Linked DNA regions of Homo sapiens: all the other regions are linked to region 3. Evidence: promoter capture Hi-C in 16 types of primary human blood cells and fetal thymus (Javierre and others, 2016). All regions are on one chromosome and are shown on one strand. The core of a region is centred on a gene start or on the middle of the fragment in contact, and the rest is flanking DNA. Distances in the headings are between cores, read along the strand shown.

The links. The method cuts DNA at HindIII sites, captures the fragments that hold promoters and counts their contacts. A CHiCAGO score of 5 or more calls a contact.
Region 1: a contact is called between the fragment with the promoter of ARHGEF15 here and the fragment with the promoter of SPDYE4 in region 3, in 13 of 17 cell types (neutrophils, naive B cells, naive CD8 T cells and 10 more). The highest score is 14.9, in neutrophils.
Region 2: a contact is called between a fragment that was not itself captured here and the fragment with the promoter of SPDYE4 in region 3, in 16 of 17 cell types (megakaryocytes, endothelial precursors, activated CD4 T cells and 13 more). The highest score is 14.8, in megakaryocytes.
Region 4: a fragment that was not itself captured here is called in contact with the fragment with the promoter of SPDYE4 in region 3 in 2 of 17 cell types (total CD8 T cells and total CD4 T cells); the score reaches 7.0 in total CD8 T cells.
Region 5: a contact is called between a fragment that was not itself captured here and the fragment with the promoter of SPDYE4 in region 3, in 1 of 17 cell types (naive CD8 T cells). The highest score is 5.5, in naive CD8 T cells.
Region 6: a fragment that was not itself captured here is called in contact with the fragment with the promoter of SPDYE4 in region 3 in 1 of 17 cell types (naive CD4 T cells); the score reaches 5.3 in naive CD4 T cells.
Region 7: a contact is called between a fragment that was not itself captured here and the fragment with the promoter of SPDYE4 in region 3, in 2 of 17 cell types (monocytes and neutrophils). The highest score is 6.5, in monocytes.

What each region holds. Positions count from the first base shown.
Region 1 is chr17:8,308,068-8,311,794 of GRCh38, forward strand. ARHGEF15 (Rho guanine nucleotide exchange factor 15) reads left to right here and starts at 2,174. Exons shown (of 16, transcript NM_173728.4): 1 at 2,174-2,276. RefSeq lists an enhancer at 2,168-2,668. The HindIII fragment of the contact is 11,022 bases long and covers 1-3,727 here.
Region 2 is chr17:8,393,346-8,396,941 of GRCh38, forward strand. It overlaps RNF222 (ring finger protein 222), which reads right to left. Exons shown (of 3, transcript NM_001146684.3): 2 at 833-984; 3 at 1-141. The coding sequence starts at 116. Among named protein-coding and RNA genes, the nearest start is that of RNF222, 2.7 kb to the right of the region's middle. The HindIII fragment of the contact is 1,225 bases long and covers 755-1,979 here.
Region 3 is chr17:8,756,828-8,760,140 of GRCh38, forward strand. It overlaps SPDYE4 (speedy/RINGO cell cycle regulator family member E4), which reads right to left and starts at 1,719. Exons shown (of 7, transcript NM_001394956.1): 1 at 1,447-1,719; 2 at 435-665. The coding sequence starts at 1,555. The HindIII fragment of the contact is 1,936 bases long and covers 244-2,179 here.
Region 4 is chr17:8,431,053-8,434,516 of GRCh38, forward strand. It overlaps a transcript of NDEL1 not described here. Among named protein-coding and RNA genes, the nearest start is that of NDEL1, 3.1 kb to the right of the region's middle. The HindIII fragment of the contact is 238 bases long and covers 1,822-2,059 here.
Region 5 is chr17:8,371,177-8,374,999 of GRCh38, forward strand. The region is part of intron 1 of KRABD2 (KRAB domain containing 2); the gene reads right to left. Among named protein-coding and RNA genes, the nearest start is that of KRABD2, 3.6 kb to the right of the region's middle. The HindIII fragment of the contact is 3,400 bases long and covers 840-3,823 here.
Region 6 is chr17:8,347,411-8,351,163 of GRCh38, forward strand. No RefSeq gene overlaps it. Among named protein-coding and RNA genes, the nearest start is that of ODF4, 9.4 kb to the left of the region's middle. The HindIII fragment of the contact is 9,727 bases long and covers 1-3,753 here.
Region 7 is chr17:8,325,222-8,328,841 of GRCh38, forward strand. No RefSeq gene overlaps it. Among named protein-coding and RNA genes, the nearest start is that of ODF4, 13 kb to the right of the region's middle. The HindIII fragment of the contact is 1,610 bases long and covers 1,563-3,172 here.

The DNA.
Region 1 (3,727 bases), core at 924-3,423, 450 kb before region 3:
TCAAAGACACACTGATGCAAGACCAGCATATGGGCCCCTGTGTCAGATTCACAAGGTTTTCTTGGAGCATTAACTGACTCCTTAATAAAGGTTATAAAGGTTATACAAAGGTTATGGAAGTTACATCTTATGGTCAAGATTAAAATGTTATAGACTATTTATAAAATTTTTGGGGCCAGGTGTGGTGGCTCACGCCTGTAATCCCAGCACTTTGGGAGGCCGAGTCGGGCATATCACGAGGTCAGGAGTTCGAGACCAGCCTGGCCAACATGGGGAAACCCTGCCTCTACTAAAAAATACAAAAAATTAGCCGGGCATGGTGGCAGATGCCTGTAATCCCAGCTATTCGGGAGACTGAGGTAGAAGAATCACTTGAACCTAGGAGGCGGAGGTTGCAGTGAGCAGAGATCGCACCACTGCACTCCAGCCTAGGCAACAGAGCAAGACTCCGTCTCAAAAAAAAAATTTTTTTTTGGAAAAAATTTAATTGGCTTCATGCTGTTTTTATTGGGGCTTATTGTTTGGAAAATTAAGTCTCTTCTGGGATTACAGGGGAGTGCCACCATGCCTGGCTAATTTTTTTTTTTTTTTTGAGATGGAGTTTCACTCTTGTTGCCCAGGCTGGAGTGCAATGGCACGATCTCAGCTCACTGCAACCTCCGCCTCCTGGGCTCAAGTGATTCTTGTGCCTCAGACTCCTGAGTAGCTGGGATTACAGGCGAGTGCCACCATGCCCGGCTAATTTTTTTTTTTTTTTTGAGATGGAGTTTCACTCTTGTTGCCCAGGCTGGAGTGCAATGGCACGATCTCAGCTCACTGCAACTGCCACCTCCTGGGTTCAAGTGATTCTCTCTCCTCAGCCTCCAGAGCAGCTGGGATTACAGGTGCCCGCCACCATGCCCAGCTAATTTTTGTATTTTTTTTTTTTAGTAGAGATGGGGTTTCACCATGTTGGCCAGGCTGGTCTCAAACTTCTGGCCTCAGATGATCCACCCTCCTTGGCCTCCCAATCTGCTAGGATTATAGGCGTGAGCCACGGCTCCTGGGACATTTTTTATTTTTATTTTTTTTGAGATGGAGTCTTGCTCTGTTGCCTAGGCTGGAGTGCAGTGGCAGGATCTTGGCTCATTGCAACCTCCACCTCCTGGGTTCAAGTGATTCTCCTGCTTCACCCTCCCGAGTAGGTGGTAGTACAGGCGTGCGCCACCACACCCGGCTAATTTTTTTGTATTTTTAGTAGAGACAGGGTTTCACCATGTTGGCCAGGCTGGTCTCAAACTCCTGACCTCAGGTGATCCTCCTGCCTCGGCCTCCCAAAGTGCTGGGATTACAGGCATGAGCCACTGCGCCCGACCTCTGCACATTTTTTATTGTTTTCAGACAGCATATTGCTCTGTTGCCCAGGCTGGAGGGCAGTGGTGCGATCACGGCTCACTGTAGTGTCCAACTCCTGGGCTCAAGTAATCTTCCCACCTCAGCCTCCTGAGTAGCTGGGACCACAGATGTGTGCCATTATGGCTTTTTTTTTTCTTTTGAGATGGAATTTCGCTCTTGTTGGCCAAGCTGAAGTGCAATGGCGCGATCTCGGCTCACTGCAACCTCTGCCTCCTGGGTTCAAGCAATTCTCCTGCCTCAGCCTCCCGACTAGCTGGGATTACAGGCGTGTGCCACCATGCTTGGCTAATTTTTTGTATTTTTAATAGAAACGGGGTTTCACTATGTTAGTCAGGCTGGTCTCGAACTCCTGACCTCAGGTGATCCGCCTGCCTCGGCCCCCCTAAGTGCTGGGATTACAGATGTGAGCCACCTCGCCCGGCCTGTCCACGGCTAATTTTTTAAAAATCTTTTGTAGAGACAGGGTCACACTATGTTGCCGAGGCTGGTCCTCCCACCTTGCCCTCCCAAAGTGCTGGAGTGCTGGGATTATAAGGATGAGCAACCACGCCTGGGCCCCTGCAAATGTTATACCTCCCTGGAGGAGACAGACCCCAAGTCCACACTTCTCTCTTCAGTCCTACCTCCTGGCCCTCCCCTTTTCTCTCTCCTCTAACACACACACACACACACACACACACACACACACACACACACACGCCAGACACAATGGCTGGGTGGGGCTGAGGAACTGGCTTCCTCCGCAGAGATCTCAATCTGGGCCCTGAGTTCCCACCCCAGAATCACAGGAACACACACTTGGAAACCTCAGCCCTGCATTCCTCGCTCCAAGGGGCAGACAGGACAGGCTGAAAATAGCAACTGGTTCCAAAAAGATAAAGGTAAATTCATGGGGACCTACTGCAGAGTTAGGGAGGGAAGCCTGCGGGAGGGTCCCTGGGTGTGAAATAGGCGTTGGCTCACACCCGGCTCAGGAGACAGGTGGTGGTGCAAGTCGGGGAAAGATGGTGAGACTCGCCGTGGAGGGACGCACGCAGCATCCCTTAGCTGAGACAGAGGCATCCAGACACCCATGCTGCTCAGCCAGGCTCTGTGCCATTGCCGTCTTGTCCTCATCCCTACCCCTGTCCACCTCACCCCTATGAGCCCCGATCCACACAGCTGTGCAGGTAGAACCTGCGCACACACTTTCCAAGCCTGAATTTCAGCTTTTCCCCAGACCCCTTTAACCTCTGAGACCCTGGATACCTCTGTCTCCTGGGGCCCTGTGTGATGTGCGCATGTGGAGAGTGGTGTGGTTCGTGAGGGGGGGGTGTCCGGTTGGGAGGCGGATCTGATTCCTGTTTCCTGCCCCTACTCACTCAGCCCTGGGAGGTGACTGAGAGTGGAGGGGATTCAAGGGTGAGTGCTTGGGGCCCGAGTACCTGGGTTCCTAAGGGTGGGGTAGGGAAGGAAGTAAATGCAGGTACCCGAGAGGGGGTGGGATCCCTGAGGGGCAGGGGCTGGGGAGGAGTTGGCCAGTGGTCAAGACTACCGTGTGGGTCACTTTGCTAAATGACTTTCTGCCAGAACACAGAGGCCACTGAGCTGCAAGACCCATCATCTACAACCCCCTTGTTCCCCCCTCATCATTTCTCAAGGAGCCAGTCCGAGGCCTGGAGGGGTCTGACTCTCCTGCTGACCCCTGAAGGGAGTTTGGGGGTTCCTCTGCTTCCCAGCCCTGACCCTGCAGCCTTCTTGGGATTGTAGCCTCCTTCCTCGAGGGAGGAAGAGAAACCCAGGCCGCAGCGCCCTGGCCCGACTGGTCCTGTCCTTCGGTTCATTCTCCCAGCCACCTCCCCAGGCCTCTTGGCAAGACCCATGGCTGTGCTGGGCCTCTCTCTGTGACCAGACCCTAGGGCAGGCGGGGATGATCAGACGCAGGACAGGAGAGACCTCGCCAGGACCTCCTCATCTCCGGGGGTCAGAGGCTCCAAGAATCTTGATGGCAGGAAAAGGAGACTAAAAATAATCCGGAAAGGGAGAGTCCGGAGAGAGGAACTGGGAAATGGGGGGCGGAGGGCCAGTGGAGCAGGGAAACAGTGATGCACGCCTCGCAGCCCAGGCCCGGCGGACAGGCGCGCCCACGGCACCCAGACCCAGACAGCGCAGAACACACATGGCACACCCACCCTGGCACCGCTATCTCAGACACTCACACCGAGAACTTCCTAAAGGGCCACACACCACACACCGTATGCTCCACTCTCCCCCTGCACACCCACCCGGCAAGCACAGAACTCGCACACTCACAACACACCATGCCACCCCCTACACAAACCACACACAAACC
Region 2 (3,596 bases), core at 117-2,616, 360 kb before region 3:
TGGCAGAACACATGGCCACAGCTCAGCGTCCGGCTGGCGCCCTCCAGGTCCCGGAACTTCTCATAGCACACGGGGCACTCACTGCCCGAGCTGTCCTTGCTCTCCCCTTCTGACATGGCCACTGGGAGATGGCACGCTCAGCTGTGGACGGGAAGGGTTGTGAATATTGGGGCATTTCCTCTTTCCCTCCCCCGTCCTAACTCCCACCTACACCTCTGCCTCCACTGCCCCTTATCCCCTCTCCCTGTCTTCTGCCTCCTCTCTCTTCCTCCTACTCTTGGCTCTTCTGCTGCTCCTCCTCTATGGCCCACCTGACTCAAACCTAGAACCCAGACCCTTAGGAGGAGAGGAGCAGATGCTTCTGGAAGGGAGAATCGGGAGACAGAGAACCAGAGAACCCAGTCACACTGGACCCCAGGAGGAGGTGTGTGGAGTTCCTGATGTCTCACCTCAATCATCATGTACACACATGGTGAGGTCACTGCCTCACCTCTTCCTGCTTCAGTGACGGAAGTGAAGAAAGGAAGTCCCTGTTACCAGGGGAAGCAGGTGGCTAAGAAGATGCATGCACAGCCCCAGTCCAGTCTCCAATTTGGACCTGCACCCAGAGTGGCCATTTTCCAGAAAAGCCCGTGCTAGTCTCAACCTCTGCCCTCACCTGGGGTTGGCGGGTCCATTGGATTTCCTCCAGCCATTGGATTGCATTCCTCTGTGCTAAGTGTGGCTATAAAGCAATGACTGTTTAAAAAAACAAAGCTTAGAACTTACACATTCAAATGCCTGCTGGCCCTCCACATAGTCACGTCAGGGAGCTTTAGGTTCATTCCCTCACCTGCCACAGCTCAGTCATTCTCCAAATTCTTCTTATGGGGCTGCCTGAGGCAGTGAGAGAAGCATCTGATTAACCGTGATGGAGACAGAATTTCATCCTTTGAGAATATGTCTGATACTTTGGAAATGCCCAGAAGTCACTGGTAGCCAAGTCTGATAGGAAAGTAAATGAGTGATCAAGTGGCATGATATTGTTTGAAATCAAAGCTATGGAGTAGCAAGATATAAAGTAACAAGATATATAAAGTAACAAGATGGTTTGTTTTTTTTTTTTTTTTTGAGAGGGAGTTTTGCTCTGTCGCCCAGTCAGGAGTGCAGTGGCGCAACCTCAGCTCACTGCAACTTCCACCTCCTGGGTTCAAGAGATTCTCCTGTCTCAGCCTCCCAAATAGCTGGCATTACAGGTGCATGCCACCACCCATGGCTAATTTTTGTAATTTTAGTAGAGACAGAGTTTCACCATGTTGGCCAGGCTGGTCTTGAACTCCTGACCTCCGGTGATCCGCCCGCCTCGGCTGGCCTCCCAAAGTGCTGGGATTACAGACGCAAGCCAAGGCGCTGGCCACAAGATGGGTTTTAAACAGAATCTGAGAGCAGATTTGTTTGATTAACTACATGGCTTCCCAAGTCGATGGCTTTGAAGGGAAACATCCACTGGGGTGTGTGGTGAGGTCCAAGTGTCCGCACTGAAAAGTTCCCAGTGTCACAACTGTGTAGCCTAAACTTATCTGGAACAGCTTCTTTAAAAAGAACCATGATTCCTTGTTATTGCTGCTTTCTTCCATCCATGACAGAGACAAAAGACCCCTGGACACACTGATAAAATAGAGTTGCATGGCAGCCCCCAGACCTGAGAGATGACATAGTGGGAACAAAATCAATGTGTAGGAAGGACAACTGTTAAGATCACAAATCTTTCAGAATCCCTCCCTCTCTTGGCTTGGCTCCAAATCTATTTTGCCGAGTTGAAAATGTCCCATAGTCAAAGAGCAAAAATATTTGGAGGTGGGATAAGGAATCTGGGATCCTGGAGGAGGCCCCCAAACCTCTTTGGGAGTTTCTAGCTTTGGTCTTTGAGATGGTCAATGTGGCCCCCAGGATGGGGGATGGGGGTTCAAATCTTTGATCTACCCATTACTGTCTGTATAAGCTTAGCCAAGTTGTTTAACCTCTCTGAGTCTCAGTTTCCTGTCCATAAGATGAAATTGATAATAATGGTATCATCTTCCTCGGAGAGTTGTTGGGGGAATTAAGTGAGCTAATGTGAGTGAAGAGTCTGGCTCAGAGTAAGTGCTCAGTAAATGGCAGTTGTCATTATTAAGACAGACCATGTCCTGTCCCCTCTTCTCCCAAAGGGGACTTGGAGACCCCTGTCACAGCTCTTGAGGCAGCCACAGCATTTGCCTTCCTTTCCTTCCCTCTCATCCCCAAATGTTCCTTAGTATGTGGATGATTAAAAAATCGCACCCACTTGACAGAGGGCAGCTCACCTCAAATTAGAATAACGGAACAAGATGACAATGGATAAGATAAGTGATGGGCAATGGATAATAATTTAAATGGTTATTCCAATCTTTCTTGGTAGTTATTTCATAACACATTTGCAAATGTTTATACCAAACAGCCATTATAATCAGGATGGGCATGATTTTCTTAAGCCAATCAACTATTAATATGTTTCCCTGCATTTCATAACTCCCCAGAGTGTATGATGGCAAGAGTTCCATCCTTCTATCCATCCATCCATCTGTCTAATTATTCGACACATATTTATTGAGCACCTGCTATGTGCTAGGTACTGACTTACATATTGGGGATAAGTAGTGGCCAAGGAAGTTCTTATAAAACTTTAGAGCCTAGTGGACATTTATAAGTTTTCTTGAAAAAGATATTTTTTTGAAAGGAGTATTGATGATCAATGGTTTAAGTTGTTTGGATAACTGAGAAGTAGAGACCAAGGCTGACAAGAAGAGCAAATAAGGAATACTAGAGGGAAAAAGGACTTTAGAGATCACTTAGTTGAAGCTCCTAGTTTCAGAGATGAGCAGATCCATGTCTAGAGAGAGGGAAGTGAGTCACCTGAGGTGACCGGTGAAGGTGACGGAGAGGGAGTTAACCGAGACAGAGAAGATTCCGTAGATGGTAGAACATTGTTAGAATCAGCTGATAGATTGGGTGAGTAGGTATTAGCCAAGTTAGAAAGCACCGTCCTCCTTGAGACGAGCAGGGAAGGAGAAGGAGAGCCTCTACTTTTCATCCGAGTTAGAGGAAAAGTAAAAAGGACCCAGGGAGTGCAGAAGACATCCGAGGCCCCAATGATGGCCTCTCTGGGCAATCCTTCTCCCTTCCAACAATGGCCTCTCTGGGCAATCCTTCCCTCTTACAACGATGGCCTCTCCGGACAATCCTTCCCCCTTCCAATGATGGCCTCTCTGGACAGTCCTTCCCGCTTCCAACGATGGCCTCTCTGGGCAATCCTTCCCCCGTCCCGTGCTTCCGGAGAGCCACGCCGTCAACACCTGGACGATGCTACCTCCTTCCCCACCTTCTTGCCTCCCTTTCTCAGTCTTTCCCTGACCCCTCCCTCTGCCTCTCTCGCTTTCTGAATCCCATTCCATTCCCCATCCTTGAGTTCCTCTTATGGTATGATTCTGTTTGGATGCTGGGGTGAGGGAGAGGGCAACAGAAGAAATGCAAGGAACATACTCTAGTTTGAGCACAAACGAGTTGAAGAAGAATGCAGTAAGTGCCAAAGCATCCCTGTT
Region 3 (3,313 bases), core at 469-2,968:
AAAGTCATCAAGAGACATAGAGTTTCAGAGGGTACAGCTGAAACCAAGCTTTCTTTTATCTTTTATTTTATTTTATTTTATTTATTTTATGACAGGGTCTTTCCTTGTCAACCAGGCTGGAGTGCAGTGGTGCAATCATAGCTCATTGCAACTTCAAACTCCTGAGTTCAAGAGATCCTCCCGCCTCAGCCTCCCAAAGCACCAAGATCTCAGGCATGAGCCACTGCACCTGGCCAGAAACCAAGCTTTCTTATTTCAAGTGCAGACCTTTATTAAGACTAGCCTAATCCTCTATCTCCTAAGCATCCTCCTCCTGCATGGAGCGCTCATCCCCCAGGAGGGCATATTCTTCTTATTGGGAAAGTGTGATTATTGAAAGATTCCACTTTTTTAAAAGAACAGGGTTGGAGGTGCTTTTTGGGGTATCCTCCTACCAAGGAGCCTGTTGAAGGCCTCGTGGTGCTCAGGGAGCACGGAGGATGCTCGCTTTCGCTTCAGCTTCATCTTGAGCCCACACAGCGTCTCCACCACCCAGGTGTCCTCGGGCTCAGGGGCGCGCTCCAACTCCAGCTCCTCCTCCAGCTCCTCCTCGGATTCGTCTGACCATTCGCTCTTCCTTTTCAGGCCAAGGGATTGAGGCTGGGGGCTGGGATCTATCCAAGGGGCTGAGTGAAGAAACCAGGCCATGGTGTCATGTTTCTGCCATTGATCACCTTAGACGCCCCGACCCAGGAACCTCAAACTACTCTTCCATCCTCCCAAGCCTCGCAGACTGTCAGCTTCTCCAAGCCATGTTTCCACCTTTCTCCTTTGCTGATCCCCATCTGCCTCTCCCTCACCTCCCCATTCTTCCGGCTCTCTGTCCTCAAAACATTTCCTCATCACAGATAAGAACTTTCAATTGGAGAAAAATGGAAACCTTCCCTTGAGCTCTGTCTGCTCTCTCTCTCTCTCTCTCTTTTTTTTTTTTTTGAGATGGAGTCTCCCTCTTGTTGCCCAGACCGGAGTGCAGTGGCACAATCTTGGTTCACTGCAACCTCCGCCTCCTGGGTTCAAATGATTCTCCTGCCTCAGCCTCTTGAGTAGCTGGGACTACAGGCACGCACCACCATGCCCAACTCACTTTTGTATTTTTGGTAGAGACAGGGTTTCATCGTGTTAACCAGGATGGTCTCGATCTTCTGACCTCGTGATCCGTCCGCCTCGGCCTTCCTCTCTCATCTTTTGAGCACATCTCCTGACCCCCTTCATTGCTCCCCAGACTTTCTTTACACGTGGCCATGCTTGGCCCCATTCCCTGCACCCTCCTTCCCCGATCCCTGGCTTCCTGAGTCCGTCGTTTCTTTCCCACACACCCTACTCAGGTGCTTCAGATTCCCAGTAACTGGCCCCCTTCCCTCTCCTCAGTCAATCATCTCCCATCGCTTCTCCCTCCAGTCACCTCACCTGATGGTCCTGGCACTTCATCATCCACCACCACCTCGGGGGACCGTACCGTTGTGCTAGGCTGGGGGCTCTCCTCCTCAAACGGGGGGCGCGCTTGACCACTGGCCATAATCTCTCCCAAACACTTTGTTTCTGTCCACAAAACCTAGTCCCTGTTCTGTCCAAAGCCTTCTTCCAGACTCCGTTAGGACCCAGAAGAGTGCGTTTCTCTTCTAGAGGCTCGGGAGAAGTTAGGAGTGAAGAGTAGTTCTGAGAAGTTGCTGTTGTCCACCTGAACTCCCAAGCAACCAGAGTCCGGTCCTTCCAATCAGGAAAGTCGGAATCTCTGATGTCATCGGTCATTCCAAACTGGCAACTACTTTGAAGAAAAACACATGTAACTGCCAGACTGATCTCTTTTCTTGGAGATCCGGGGTGAACGGTATCTCCTGGCAATGTCCCAACCTCTGAGCATTGTCCAAAAGCATCCTCAGGGTCTCCACATTCCTCTTTTCCCTGTCCCAGCAGAGGCTGTGTCCTCTCCACTCTAAACTTGAGGGGGTGTTGGGCTCTCCTCCCCGCTTCTCCTTCCCATTTCAGAGTCTAGTCTGGTGAGAGAGGGAGGAAGGTGGAAGGAAATTTAGGGTAAGCAGAATGATGAGTCCTTCCAAGAGTGAGATTAACATATACAGGAGATCCTGGGTAAATTGACTTGTTGAATGGAGACGTTACGTCGAAGTACTCAATGTGGCAAAGCTTTTTTGCTGAATGTTTACTGATATTCACTATCCTGGATCCTATAGTAGGGGAACATGCATCCTTTGCTCTCAGGCATCTTTGAGTCCAAGAGACATTTTGAGGAATGAAAATCACAGGAGACTGTCCATGGTTTCGTACAGATTTTCAATGGTGTCCACAAGTTCAGGGCATCCATGGATCACCTAAAGCCTGCCCTCCAGTTCAGCTAAGGAACTCTGGTCTATATATCAACTATTACAACATATCTATTTCACTTGACCCCAAAATTTGCCTACTATTTATGTATTTTATGAATAAAATATCCTGTGTATAAAAAGACTAAGGGGAAAATCTCAGCCAGGCCCAGGGGCTCCTGCTCATAATCTCCCTCCTTTGGGAGGCCAAGGCAGGGCGTCACTTGAGGTTAGGAGTTCAAGATTAGTCTGGGCAACATAGCAAAACGTCATCTCTACAAAATATAAACAAAGTAATCAGGAATCGTGGCACACACCTGTGGTCCCAGTACTTGGGAGGCTGAGGCAGGAGGATTGCTTCAGCCCAAGTGTTTGAGGCTGCAGTGAGCTATGATTGCACCACTGCACACCAGCCTGGAGGACAGAGTGAGACTCAGTCTCAAAAATATTTTTTTCGGAAAAAATAAAAATGTAAGAGCTGGATACTATCTCAGATACCATCCAAAGAACCTGTGAGTTCTGGCACAGCTTCCTAATGGGCTCCTAGGAGTCTCTCGCTGATGGGAAAGGCACAACTGAATGAGGAGGCAGATCCCGTCGCTGTGGAAGTCCAATTGTTAGGAAACTCTGCTTACATTGAGTGGACCTTCGCATTCACGATGCTTTCAACCATCAGAACTGGTTGGATCCTTTTACAACAAAACAGAAAATCATCTTTCTCTCCTATTTAATAGGCTTTCAAACATTAGAAGATCAATATTCTGTTGCCATTAAAATTTCTCTTCTGTACCACGTAAAGTTCTGATTAATCACTCTTCAAGCCAGTTTTACATATTCCTCTGTCTTCTAGGCACCTTCTGTAGACAGGCTACAATAAGGCAGCCATCTTAAATTATGTCAATACATTGTCCAAAAATGAGCTAAACAGTTCAGGTTTCATCTGATATGTTCAGGGA
Region 4 (3,464 bases), core at 691-3,190, 330 kb before region 3:
CGTGGGAGGGGTGGCAGCTTGGAAGATGATGCCAACATTTTCCGAGGGGCCTGGCCTGCCATTAGATGACTCAGTGCGTTTCCCAGCACCTCAGCCAGGAGGCAGGGAGAGAGCCGCAGCCCTTATTAATTTTTTTCCTCTTGGGATAGGACTGTTTTGTCTTGGCACCAGGTCCACAGGAAAGCCTTCATTCATCCCCTCCCTGTCTGTGATCTCATCAGCCAGAGCACAGCTTCACCCAGGGAAGCAGAGCCCCAGAGCCTGAACGAGCTGTACCAGTCCATTGTCCCAGGCCACTGGCCTTGAAGTAAGACCTACTTGAGTTTAAGCCCTAGCTCCTCTGGGTCTCAGTTTACAATATGTACAATGGAAGCAATAATCACAGCCTCACAGGCTCATTGTGAGGACTGAGGGAGGGAAAGCATGTAAAGCACTTAGCACAGTGCTCTAGCCCAATACATGGTAGTAATTGCTAATACTCCCCCTTCTTGAGTAGCAATATAATAGTTGTTAATAGTGTGTTTTCTGGAGAGTTAGACAATTCGAACAGGGTGGGTTTGAGGCTTGAGGCCTCATCTTTCTAGTTGAGAGACTTTGGGAAACTTCATCTTGCTGAGTCTGTTTCCTCATTTAAAAAATGGGAATAACACTACCTATCTCATGGGATTACTGTGAGGATGAAATTAAGCAGACCAAGTGTTTAGCACAGTTGCCAGTGCATACAAGAGAACTTCGGAAAGTTCATAGAAAAATGGAATTAAAAGATAAAATTAAAAGATATAAACTTTATTTCTCAACGTAAGCTCCCTCAAGGTCAAGACACCTTTTTTTTTTTTTTTGAAACAGGCTTGCTCTGTCACCCAGTGGCATGATCTTGGCTCACTGCAACTTCCACCTCCCAGGTTCAAGCGGTTCTCAAGCTTCACCCACCTGAGTAGCTGGGATTACAGGCACATGCCATCACATTCAGCTAATTTTTCTATATTTTTAGTAGAGACGGGGTTTCACCATGTTGGCCAGGCTAGTCTTGGACTCCTGGCCTCAAGTGATCTACCCGCCCCAGGTCTCCCAAAGTGCTGAGATTACAGGTGTGAGCCACTGTGCCCAGCCAAGGTCAGGATACTTTCGTAACCATGATATCAGCCATTTATTTAGTACATCCCTAAAGAATTGAGGATCTGGGGATTTTAAGCATGTTAATGCAGTCTTTTTTACATTATTAACTGAAGAAAAATGGCTACCCTTTAAAGAGATATATATATATATTTATATATAAATATATATATTATATATAAATATAAATATAAATATATATATATTTAATGGCAGGCCAATATATATATATTTTTTGAGACAGAGTCTCGCTCTGTTGCCCAGGCTGGAGTGTAGTGGCGCGATCTCGGCTCACTGCAAGCTCCGCCTCCCGGGTTCATGCCATTCTCCTGCCTCAGCCTCCCAAGTAGCTGGGACTACAGGCGTCCACCACTACACCCAGCTAATTTTTTGGATTTTTAGTAGAGACGGGTTTTCACCGTGTTAGCCAGGATGGTCTCGATCTCCTGACCTCGTGATCCGCCTGCCTCGGCTTCCCAAAGTGCTGGGATTACAGGCATGAGCCACTGCGCCTGGCCTAAAGATTTTTTAAGATTAGGAAACAAAAAGTCTTCAGAGGGAGCCAAATTGGGACTGTAAGGTGATGTCTACTGATTTTCCACTGAAACTCTTGCAAAATTGCCCTTGTTTGATGAGAGAAATGAGCAGGAACTTTATCATGGTGGAAAGGTCTCTCTGATGAAGGTTTCCTGGGCATTTTTCCACTAAAGCTTTGGCTAATCTTCTCAAAACACTCTCGTAATAAGTACGTTATTATTCTTTAGCCCTCCAGAAAGCAAAATGCCTAGAACAACCCACAAAATGGTTGCCATGATTTTTGCTCTTGACTGGTTCACTTTGCTTTGACTGGACTACTTCCATCTCTTGGTAGCCACCGCTTTGTCTTCAGGATTGTACTGGTAAAGCGAAGTTTCATTCTTGGTTACAATTCTTCAAAAAAAAAAAAAGCTTCAGGATCTTGATCCCACTTGTTTAAAATGTGTGAAATTTTGAAAGCTCTGTTCTTGTCAGCAGCTGACCTGGGCACAATGGTTTTGCCACCCATTGGGTGGAAAGTTAGCTCAACTTTAATTTTTCAGTAAGGATTGTGTAGGCCAAATCTGTTGAGATATCTGTGGTGCTGGCTATTGTTTCTGCTGTTAATCATTGATCCTTTTCAATTAGCACATGAACAAGATTACTTTTTTTCCTCACAAATTGATGTGGAGGGTCTGCTGCTGTGGGCTTCATCTTCAACATCATCATGTTTCTTCTTAAAATGAATTATCCATTTGTAAACTGCTGACTTCTTTTGGGGCTTTGTCCTTTTACACTTTTATAAAGCGTCAATGATTCCACCATTTTTCCACCCAGGCTTCACCATAAATTTAGTATTTTGTATTGCTTCAATTTTGTAGAATATGTGTTCTGATAGGGACTCTCTTCAAACTGATTTCTTATCTTTCTTGGTGCTTCAAGCTAGATCCTGTTCAGACATGTTATAGCAAGTTAGAACAAATTTATTTTGGTGCAAACATTTATTTTATTTTTTTAGAGACAGGTGTCTCACTGTGCTGCCCAGGCTGGTCTCGAACTTCTGGGCTCAAGTGATCTGTCTACCTCAGCTTCCCAGAGTGCTGGGATTACAGGTATGGGCCACCATGCTTGGCCCTGTGCAAAAAAAAAATTGGAAATCCATGCATAGTTTTTTCATAATATGCATATTATTCATAATATTATTCATAATAGGCATATGTAATATGTTACCTTTCCCACAAACCCCATTAATCCCTTCTCTGATCTTTATTGATTTGGGTACCTCTTACAATCCATCTTGCATTGTTCCTGTTTATGTCCATCGCCCTCAAAAATATAAACTGGGCCTCCTAGGCTCACTTTGTTTTCACCTTGAGGCATGTCTTACACATTATTTTTGTGTTCACACCCACAAATCCAATCCTAAAAGCACTGAAATTGGAAAGGATTACATTGCGTGCCGCATGGAGGCTGGTGCCTGTAATCCCAGGACTTTGTGGGGGGCTGAGGTGGGAAGATTGCCTGAAGTCAGGAGTTCTTTTTTGTTTTGTTTTGTTTGTTTTTAGACGGAGTCTCACTCTGTCGCCCAGGTTAGAGTGCAGTGGTGCTCACTGCAACCTCCGCCTCCCGGGTTCGAGCGATTCTCCTGCCTCAGCCTCCGGAGTAGCTAGGATTACAGGTGCCCACCATCATGCCTGGCTAATTTTTGTACTTTTAGTAGAGACAGGGTTTCACCATGTTGGCCAGGCTGGTCTCGAAGTCCTGGCCTCAGGTGATTTGCCCGCCTCGGCTTCCCAAAGTGCTGCAGCGCCTGGCCGAAGTCAGGAGTTCTTGAC
Region 5 (3,823 bases), core at 1,290-3,789, 380 kb before region 3:
AAATTTCTTATGGCTGAGGAGTCTGTCCTTATCTTGGGGAATCGAGAAGAAAGCTGTGGGGATATTTTTAAATGACGGTTTCCCCTTGACAATTGTCCACAAGATTAATAAAGGAAGATTCTGAGCCCTTACCCTGTGGGACCGTGTTCTCATAACTGTCCAGCATTGTGTCTCTGTAGCAATCCTTTTGAGAGCCTTCTAAATAATTCCAATCTTTGGTCATATTTTCAAATGCTGTTGCTTCCTGAAACAACATTGGCTGCTGCCACAGGGACCATATAGTCTTGGGGCCTGGGCTAAAGAGCAGCTTCAGCAGGACTGGGGAAGAGACAAGAGAGGGCACCAGGAATGAAGGCATGCAGCATAAAGGACTCTGAAAGCGAGTCAGGTGAATAAATGGAAGAAATAAGAAATAGGTCTCACATCTAACAAGATGAGTACAGCTTCATGGATGAGGGAAAGGAGTTTTGCTTTCCTGGGAGGTCTGTTGGTCTGGCCAGTTTTGACGCTGCCAGAGCTGTAGCCCATTTATTAATCTTTCCAGAATAAAGCAGAGTCCAAGTGAACTTGGGCGCAGGCTTGATGACTCCTAACAGGGGTGGCAGGATCTGTTTCCAATGGAAATATTATATCTGTGTACATAAAGATATGTCAGGAGATTATCCTGCAGAAAAGAGATACCCCAAATGGAGTCTACCTGCCACTGTGATCAGATAATTCCTTAGGGAGAGAACTTGATACTCAGTTGTCTAAACTGGGATTCCTTAGTCAGAACAGCCGTAAGACAGGATGGTGATGAGGCCAGGGGAGTTCACATGAGGACTGCAGGAATTCCAGCAAGCTTAGGAAAACAGGATCCCGAGATCCCAGCTGTCAGATGCAGAGCGGAGGGGCAGGGCAGAATCCTGAGAAGCAGAGAAAGATGGAAACTTTTAAAGGCTCTGAGCAAGAGTCTCAGTTAAGTGGGGCCTGCTTCCAGGTCCGGAAGGTCCTTCACTAAAAGGGCTTCAAACTCCCTTCCTCAGCATTGCTAGTTAATCATGAATATTCCTGATTCTAAGACATTACTGATTGTAAATCACTAACTTAATAACAACTTTCTTTTGAGAGGAAAAACAGTGTGTATTAAATGAATGTATTGATAAGACACATCCAAAATTTAAAATGTGAAAAATATGCATTTTCATTCTTTTTCTTTTTTTGTATTTTTTTATAGAGATGGGGTTTTGCCATGTTGCAAAAAACCCAGGCCGGTCTCGAACTCCTGGGCTCTAGTGATCCACCTGCCTCAGCCTCCCAAAGTGAGGTTTTGCCATGCTGGCCAGGCTGGTCCTCGAACTTCTAGCCTCAAGTGATCTGCTCGTTTTGGCCTCCCAAAGTGTTGGAATTACAGGTGTGAGCCAGCACACCCAGCCGGTCCTACTAGTTCTAACAGACTTGAAACCACAAGGTATTCAATGGAATCCAGAAAAAGCACCTTCCAGATTCCTTTCTGAAACCAGCGTCTCTCAGAACCTGAGTGCTGTGTTGGTTGTTATTTGAGTCCCTTCAGGGGACCGCAAAGGAAGGAAAAGCCTCATCTTCATTCTATAAAATAATGAAGGCAACTGGGCATGGTGGCTCATGCCTGTAATCCTAACACTTTGGTAGGCCAAGGTGAGAGGATTGCTTGAGGCCAGGAGTTCAAGACCAACCTAGTCAACATAGTGAGACCCTGTCTCTAAAAATAAAAAAAAGAAAAAAAAGAATGAAGGCAACAGGCTAGAAACAATTTATAATCAAAAGATGTAGAATCTCAGTCTTTAGTAGAGGTACAGTCCTTACTATACCATGAAATTCTACAGTAGAGTCCAGGGTCTACAATTATCTAATAGACCTATTTTGGTTGGTCCATCTAGTGATTTTAAAAAAATTTGTCTCCCTCTTCCTCTCTCCATCTCCGTCTCCACGGTCTCCCTCTCCCTCTCTCCCTCTCTCCGTCTCCGTCTCCGTCTCCGTCTCCACGGTCTCCCTCTCCCTCTCTCTCCACGGTCTCCCTCTGATGCCAAGCCGAGGCTGGACTGTACTGCCGCCATCTCGGCTCACTGCAACCTCCCTGCCTGATTCTCCTGCCTCAGCCTGCCGAGTGCCTGGGATTGCCCACAGGCGCCGCCATGCCTGACTGGTTTTTGTATTTTTTGGTGGAGATGGGGTTTCGCCGTGTTGGCCGGGCTGGTCTCCAGCTCCTGACCGCGAGTGGTCTGCCTGCCTCGGCCTCCCGAGGTGCCGGGATTGCAGATGGAGTCTCGCTCACTCAGTGCTCAATGTTGCCCAGGCTGGAGTGCAGTGGCGTGATCTCGGCTCCCTACAACCTCCACCTCCCAGCTGCCTGCCTTGGCCTCCCAAAGTGCCGAGATTGTAGCCTCTGCCCGGCTGCCACCCCGTCTGGGAAGTGAGGAGCGTCTCTGCCTGGCCGCCCATCGTCTGGGATGTGAGGAGCCCCTGTGCCCGGCCGCCCAGTCTGGGAAGTGAGGAGCCTCTTCCCGGCCGCCATCCCGTCTGGGAAGTGAGGAGGGTCTCTGCCCAGCCGCCCATCGTCTGAGATGTGGGGAGCGCCTCTGCCCCGCCGCCCCGTCTGGGATGTGAGGATCGCCTCTGCCCGGCCGTGACCCCGTCTGGGAACTGAGGAGTGTCTCTGCCCGACCGCCACCCCGTCTGGGAGGTGAGGAGCGTCTCTGCCCAGCCGCCCCGTCTGAGAAGTGAGGAGCCCCTCCGCCCGGCAGCCGCCCCGTCTGGGAAGTGAGGAGCATCTCCACCCTGCAGCCGCCCCATCCAGGAGGTGGGGGGCAGCCCCTGCCTGGCCAGCCGCCCCGTCCGGGAGGGAGGTGGGGGGCAGCCCCCGCCCGGCCGGCCGCCCCGTCTGGGAAGTGAGGGGCCCCTCTGCCGGGCCGCCACCCCGTCTGGGAGGTGTACCCAACAGCTCATTGAGGACGGGCCATGGTGACGATGGCGGTTGTGTCGAATAGAAAAGGGGGAAATGTGGGGAAAAGAAAGAGAAATCAGATTGTTACTGTGTCTGTGTAGAAAGAAGTAGACATAGGAGACTCCATTTTGTTCTATACTAAGAAAAATTCTTCTGCCTTGGGATGCTATTAATCTATAACCTTACCCCCAACCCCGTGCTCTCTGAAACATGTGCTGTGTCCACTCAGGGTTAAATGGATTAAGGGCAGTGCAAGATGTGCTTTGTTAAACAGATGCTTGAAGGCAGCATGCTCGCTAAGAGTCATCACCACTCCCTAATCTCAAGTACCCAGGGACACAAACACTGCGGAAGGCCGCAGGGTCCTCTGCCTAGGAAAACCAGAGACCCTTGTTCACATGTTTATCTGCTGACCTTCCCTCCACTATTGTCCTATGACCGTGCCAAATCCCCCTCTCTGAGAAACACCCAAGAATGATCAATAAATACTAAAAAAAAAAAAAAAAAAAAAAAAATTGAATGATTCGGCCGGGCGTGGGGGCTCACACCTGTAACCCCAGCACTTTAGGAGGCGGAGGTGGGCGGATTACAAGGTCAGGAGATCGAGACCATCCTGGCTAACACGAGGAAACCCCGTCTCTACCAAAAATACAAAAAATTAGCTGGGCATGGTGGCGAGCGCCTGTAGTCCCAGGAGGCTGAGGCAGGAGGATGACATGAACCCGGGAGGTGGAGCTTGCAGTGAGCCGAGATCGTGCCTCCGCACTCCAGCCTGGGCGACAGAGCCAGACTCTGTCACAAAAAAAAAAAAAAAAAAAAAAAAAAATTCAATGTTTCACCTATATTTACAGATTGGGAGAT
Region 6 (3,753 bases), core at 1,125-3,624, 410 kb before region 3:
CGAGTGCAGGGCCCGCCAAGCCCACGCCCACCCGGAACTCCAGCTGGCCCGCAAGCGCCGCGCGCAGCCCGGGTTCCCGCTCGCGCCTCTCCCTCCACACCTCCCTGCAAGCTGAGGGAGCCGACTCCGGCCTTGGCCAGCCCGGAAAGGGGCTCCCACAGTGCAGCGGTGGGCTGAAGGGCTCCTCAAGTGCCGCCAAAGTGGGAGCCCAGGCAGAGGAGGCGCCGAGAGCAAGGGCTGTGAGGACTGCCAGCACGCTGTCACCTCTCACAGGGACAAATTGTGAGTGGATCAGGTATGTTAAAAATATATGTATTAGGTTGGGCCGCGTGAGGTGGCTCATGCCTGTAATCCCAGCACTTTGGGAAAACTAGGTGGGCGGATCACTTGAGGTCAGGAGTTCGAGACCAGCCTGGCCAACATGGTGAAACTCCGTCTCTACTAAAGATACAAAAATTAGCCGGGTGTGGTGGTGCATGCCTGTAGTCTCAGCTACCTGGGTGGCTGAGGCATGAGAATCGCTTGAACCTGGAAGATGGAGGTTGCAGTGAGCCGTGATCGCGCCACTGCAGATTGAACCATATATGTTGTGTTAGTAGTTAAATGTGGCAATTTTATATGGTTCAACCTAATGTATATGATCGACTTTATTTATTTATTTATTTATTTATTTATTGAGACGGAGTTATGCTCTTGTTGCCCAGGCTAGAGTGCAATGGTACCATCTTGGCTCACCGCAACCTCTGCCTCCCAGGTTCAAGCGATTCTCCTGCCTCAGCCTCCCTAGTAGCTGGGATTACAGGCATGCACCACCATGCCGGCTAATTTTGTATTTTTAGCAGAGACGGGGTTTCTCCATGTTGGTCTGGCTAGTCTTGAATCCTGATCTGCCCGCCTCAGGTGATCGGCCCGCCTCAGCCTCCAAAGTGCTGGGATTACAGGTGTGAGCCACCACGCCCAGCTGACTTCTATTTAATATGAGCCCTGTCTGAGATTCTTGTTCTTACCACACCTGATCAGCAATTGTAGCATTCCTAACCCAGGAAAGATTCCTAACAAAGGAAAGATTCTGAGCAAGGAACATAATACAAGGGCTTGAAAATTAGGCACAACAGATATTCCACAAATCTCTACTCTGTATCCCACTTTAATCCTCTCCCCAGTAGCGAACAAGGATTTACTAGGGGACTTACTGAACTAGTCATCCTGGAGGAAGGGACACCAAATAAAGGAATGTCATGGTCTCTGCCTTAGGTACAAACACACGTATGTATAATGTAATTAGAGAAACTGACTTAGTGATTTTGTAGGGGTCACAAACTCAAATGCATACAGGGGCTAGGTGGGTAACATAAATAAAGGGGGCCACTCTCACAGTCTGTATATAATTTTTCCCTTTTGATAAAGATCTGGTGTATTAGCTATTTATTGCTGGATAACAAATTACCCCACATTTAGTGGCTTAAAATAATAAATATTTATTATCTCACATCATATCTGAAGGCCAGGAATGTAAAAGCAGCTTAGCTGAATAATTTGTCAAAATTATTTAAAAAATTTTAAAAAACTTTTAAAAATTATTTTATCATATACAACATGATGTTTTGAAATAGGTTTACATTGTGGAATGGCTGAGTTGAACTAATTAATGTATGCATTCCCTCACATACTATTTTTTGTGGTGAGAACACTTAAAACCTACTATCTCAACGTTTTTCAAAATGCAATACATTGTTATTGACTATAGTCACCATGTTGTACAATAGGTCTCTTGAACTCATTCCTCCTAATTAAAATCTTATAGTTTTTTTTTTTTTTTTTTTTTTTTTGAGATGGAGTCTCGCTGTCTCCCAGGCTGGAGTGCAGTGGCGCGATCTCGGCTCACTGCAACCTCACGCCATTCTCCTGCCTCAGCCTCCCGAGTAGCTGGGACTACAGGTGCCCACCACCACGCCTGGCTAATTTTTTTGTGTTTTTAGTAGAGACGGGGTTTCACCGTGTTCACCAGGATAGTCTCGATCTCCTGACCTCATGATCCACCTGCCTCGGCCTCCCAAAGTGCTGGGATTACAGGTGTGAGCCACCGCGTCCGGCATTTTTTTTTTTTTTTTGAGACCGAGTTTCACTTTCATTGCCCAGGCTGGAGTGCAATGGTGAGATCTTAGGTCACTGCAATCTCTGCCTCCTGGGTTCAAGCGATTCTCCTGCCTCAGCCTCCCGAGTAGCTGGGATTACAGGTGTGTGCCTCCATGCCCGGCTGATTTTTTGTATTTTTAGTAGAGACGGGGTTTCACCATCTTGGTCAGGCTGGTCTTGAACCTCTGACCTCAGGTGATCCACCCACCTCAGCCTCCCAAAGTGTTGGGATTACAGGCATGAGCCACCACACCCGGCAATCTTATAGTCTTTGACCAATATCTCCTCAGTCACATCCTCCCCCAGCCCCTGGCAAACACCATAATACTCTTTGCTTCTATGTGTTTGACTAAATTAGATTCTACATGTAAGTGAGATCATGCAGTATTTGTCTTTCTGTGCCTGGTTTATTTCACTTAACATAATGCCATCCAGGTTCATCCATCTTGTTGTAAATGACAGGATTTCCTTCTTCTTCTTTTTTTTTTTTTCTGTTGAGACGGAGTTTCTCTCTTGTCGCCCAGGCTGGAGTGCGATGGTGTGATCTTGGCTCACTGCAACCTCGACCTCATGGGTTCCAGCAATTTTTCTGCTTCAGCCTCCCAAGTAGCTGGGACTGCAAGTGCCCACTGCCATGCTTGGCTAATTTTTGTATTTTTAGTAGAGACAGGGTTTCACAATGTTGGCCAGGTTGGTCTTGAACTCCCGACCTCAAGTGATCCACCCGCCTTGGCCTCCCAAAGTGCTGAGATTACAAGCATGAGCCACCACGCCTGGCCTGTGGACATATTTTATTACCATTACATTTTGGTATAAAAAATATCTTACAATAGGAGGGCATAATTAGAAATGGCAACTGGAATTTCATTTTAATTTTGGGAGACAAGTGGGATTGGGATATCCCGGAAAACTGCCTTATGTAACAGGGGAAGGTGCAACTCAGCTCCATGGGTTATTGCTGTGAGGAACATTTGTCATATGGAGCTGCTCAGCATTCATATGGTTTTCCTATTTGGGGAGAATGTCAACATAAGTGGGAAGTGGAGTCGCTTCCAATTATAGAAGGTGCAGGAGGGGAAGACACACCTGGGACCGCTCTCAGGCAGTCAGAGTGCCAACGTATGACTAAGATTATTCACCTGCGGCAGGGCACGGTGGCTCATGCCTGTAATCCCAACACTTTGGGAGGCCGAGGTGGGCGGATCACTTGAGGTTGGAAGTTCGAGACCAGCCTGACCAACATGGAGAAACCCTGTCTCTACTAAAAATACAAAATTAGCCGGGCGTGGTCATGCATGCCTGTAATCCCAGCTACTCGGGAGGCTGAGGCAGGAGAATCACTTGAATCTGGGAGGGGGAGGTTGCAGTGAGCCAAGATTGTGCCGTTGCACTCCAGCCTGGGCAACAAGAGCAAAACTCCATCTCAAAAAAAAAAAGATTGTTCACCTGCGACTTTGTATCCTTTTCATTAAGTGCAAAGAATTAAGGGAATATTGGAATCACTGTAGTCCATGCAGGATCCTGCATCCTGCAGCAGAGGTGACAGGGCCATTGTCTAGGGGGGACAGCACAGGGTTTTTCTCCCAGAAAACTCATGTGGCATGACTAGGGTTGTAG
Region 7 (3,620 bases), core at 1,118-3,617, 430 kb before region 3:
AGCCACTATCACCTTATTCCCTCACAGTCTATCATGCTGGGGAGGTGGAAGAAACCAACATTTCCACAGGCTCAGGAAAGGTGCAGGCGTCCCCGGGGGGAGATGCCTGAGGCGACAGGGTGGGAAAGCTGGCCCCAGTTGGGGACCTTTCTCTGAGTCAGTGTGGACACTCTTCACCCGTGGCCCTGCTCCTCATAGCTGAAGCCTCCATATTCTGGGAGTCAATTGTCAACCTAAAAGGAAGAGGCTGAGGCACAAAATATGGTTGAAAGAGTTTACTTGAGCCCAAGGGGGCCGGGCATGGTGGCTCACGCCTGTAATCCCAACACTTTGGGAGGTCGAGGCAGGTGGATCACCTGAGGTCATGACTTTGAGACCAGCTTGGCCAACATGGTGAAACCCCGTCTCCACTAAAAATACAAAAAATTAGCCGGGTGTCGTGGTGCCCGCCTGTAATCCCAGCCACTCGGGAGGCTGAGGCAGGAGGATCCTTTGAACCCAGGAGACAGTGGTTGCAGTGAGCCAAGATCGCGTGATTGCACTCCAGCCTGGGTGACAAGAGCGAGACTCTGTCTCAAAAAACAAAAAACAAACGAAAGACAAAGGGAGGACGGCTGCCAGGAAGACTCAGACCCAAGTAACCTTGGATATGAGCTCCATTAGGGCTTTGTTACAAGCAGGTTTTCAAAGGCAAAAAAGGGGGACAGGGAGTGGGCTGTGGGCTGATACAAAGTTGTTAGGAATTCTCATTGGTTTAAAGGAAGCTCTTTGATTAGTGATTGGCTATATACTGTTAAGCTATAGGGGGTGGGTTATAGTGTCCAGTGTGGCATTACCAGGTTAATTCATAGCTACTTATGGCAAGAGCAAGCCAATGCAAGCAGTTAAAGAGGTGAATACCTAGCTCAAAGGGGGTAATGGGATGTCACTGTTGTCTCATTTTAATTCCTCTCTGGCCCTGATTTTTTTTTTTTTTTTTGTCACAAGATTTGGCTTTGTCACCCAGGCGGGAGTGCAGTGGCACGATCTTGGCTCACTGCAGCCTCGAGCTCCTGGGCTCAAGCGATCCTCCTGCCTCAGCTTCCTGAGTAGCTGGGACCACAGGCAGGAGCCAACACACCCGACTAATTTCTGTATTTTTTGTAGAGACGGCGTTTTGCCATGTTGCCCAGGCTGGTCTGGAACTCCTGGGCTCAAGCGATCCTCTCTATGGGCCTGATAATTTTAAAAGCCTTGCCCCCCTCAGATAAAAAGTTTTTCTTTTCCTACAAGATAAGGCAGATAGTAAAGGGCACGGGCCTCTCTTTGAGCTGGCCTTCTGTGGGCTCCGGGTCAAGATCTTAGTGGCCAACATCGCAGATAAACGGGGGTGGGGGTTGCAATCATGCCCACAAGCAACAGAGGAAAGAGAGGAGCCTCGCCCTCTTCCCCCCACGCCCCGGCCCCCAAGCCTGCTCACTAGCTCTCTCCTCCTCCTTCCACCCGCAAGGAACCCTCCAGCCCACTTCCTGTGATCCTTTCCGGAGCCCTTCAGCCTGGCTGGCTCTCCAGCCATCTCGGAAAGCTTCTCTTTCCTAAACCCTCCATACTCGCAGGTTCAGCTACAGAGGTAACTGCAGGCTCAGGTTCTCCAGGGTGGCCAGCCCACCAGCCCACCGTCCCGGTGCAGCAGTGCCTCTCCAGCGACAGCTCCACCGCGAGCCTGGCGGGCTCCCGACCTTGCTCCCCAGCACGTCGTCTCCAAGCCACGGTCTCACCACCCTCCATCAGCCTCGGGCGACACCAAGGGGAACAGAGCGCTGGAGCTCCTCGAAGTCCTCCCGACCTTAGCGGGGCTCCGTTCATCCTCCCGGACGTGGCCAGGCCCCGCTCTGGCCCCGCGCCCGCCCCTCCCGCGGGGCTGCCCCTGTCTCTCTGCCGGAGACCCGGACTCAGTGAGTGAGCGCAGCGCGGCCATAGGGCTTCCTGCAGCGGGGTCTCAGCACGTCTTCTGGCTGGACTCTGGGGTCTCCTGGCCTGGCTGTGTCTCCTGGTTCTCAGCGCTCGCCTCCCACGCGGGGCGGAGTATGGGAGTGGGCTGCTCCCGCGGAAGAATCCTGGGGAAGTTGAGGCACTGGCTCCCGCTGTTCAGAACACTGCCCGACGTCCCCAGAGCTAGCCACTCCTCCTTCCCACCCACCCGCAGCACTCTCGAGGTCGCAACGGCAGTCACCAGGTCCCGGGGCCTGCGTTCAGCTGCTTGATCCGACTAGGTTTGGCTTCGGACCCGAATGGGTCAGCTCCACGCCCGATGGAGTTTTTCAAGCTGGTGCCTGCACGTGCCCCCGCCGCGGGGCATGAAGCCGTGGGCTGCGCCCAAACTGCCTCACAACCACCGCTGACCCGAAGCCTCTCTCACTCCGTCCACTGTTAGAAACCTGAAGCTGCCCTCTGTGAGAAAGCGTTGGGATTGAATCCAGACTTTTGGGGAACCTTAACAATAAAGAATACAAAATATTGACTAAAAATTGGATTTGAAAGTGACCCTGAGTTGTTGTTGTTGTTTTTGTTTTAGACGGAGTCTCACACTGTCACCCAGTCTAGAGTGCAGTGGCGTGACCTCGGCTCACCGCAACCTTCGCCTCCTGGGTTCAAGCGATTCTCCTGCCTCAGCCTCCCGAGTAGCTGGGACTACAGGCGTGCGCCACCACACTCGGCTAATTTTTTATATTTTTAGTAGAGACGGGGCTTCACCATATGGCCAGGCTGGTTTTGAACCCTTGACCTCATGATCTACCCCCATCGACCTCCCAAAGTGCTGGGATTACAGGGGAGGCACTGCGCCCAGCTACTCTTCCTTGATTTACGACAACCCTTGGTTATTGTGATTGGGTCGAGATGGGTATGTGTCCCAATTTGGATCAATGAGTTCAGAGACAGTTAATTCGAGACCCACCCAAGAGCCACTTGAATGAGCCATTCTCTCTTCCCCTGGACATTGCAGTGTGAGGATATAAGGTTTGGATCAGTGGCTGCCATTTTAGTGCAGTGAGAGGCAGCTTGGAGTTGCTGGGGAGGCCACTGGATACAGCCTGATGAAGGAGCCAACACCACAAAACTGGAAATGGAGAGACAAGGGGAAAGCCAGGTCCTTGTTATCATCACTTGAGTTCCAGGATCAAGTCTCATCTGAAGCTTTTATCTTGATTTTTCAGTTATTTTTGTTTGTTTGTTTGTTTGAGGCAGGATCTCGCACTGTTGCCCAGGCTGGAAGGAAGTGGCACGATCTCGGCCCACTGCAACCCTCTGCCTCCTAGGTTCAAGCTATTCTCATACTTCAGCCTCTCTAGTAGCTGGGACTACAGGCATGCGCCACCATGCCCAGCTAATTTTTTTTTTTTTTTTTTTTTTTTAGATGGAGTCACACTCTGTCACCCAGGCTGGAGTGCAATGGCATGATCTTGGCTCACTGCAACCTCTGCCTCCTGGGTTCAAGTGATTCTGTTGTCTCAGCCTCCTGAGTAGCTGGGATTGCAGGCGCCTGCGATCATGCCCCACTAATTTTTGTATTTTTAGTAGAAATGAAGTTTCACCATGTTGGCCAGGCTGGTCTCAAACTCCTGACCTCAGGCGATCTGCCC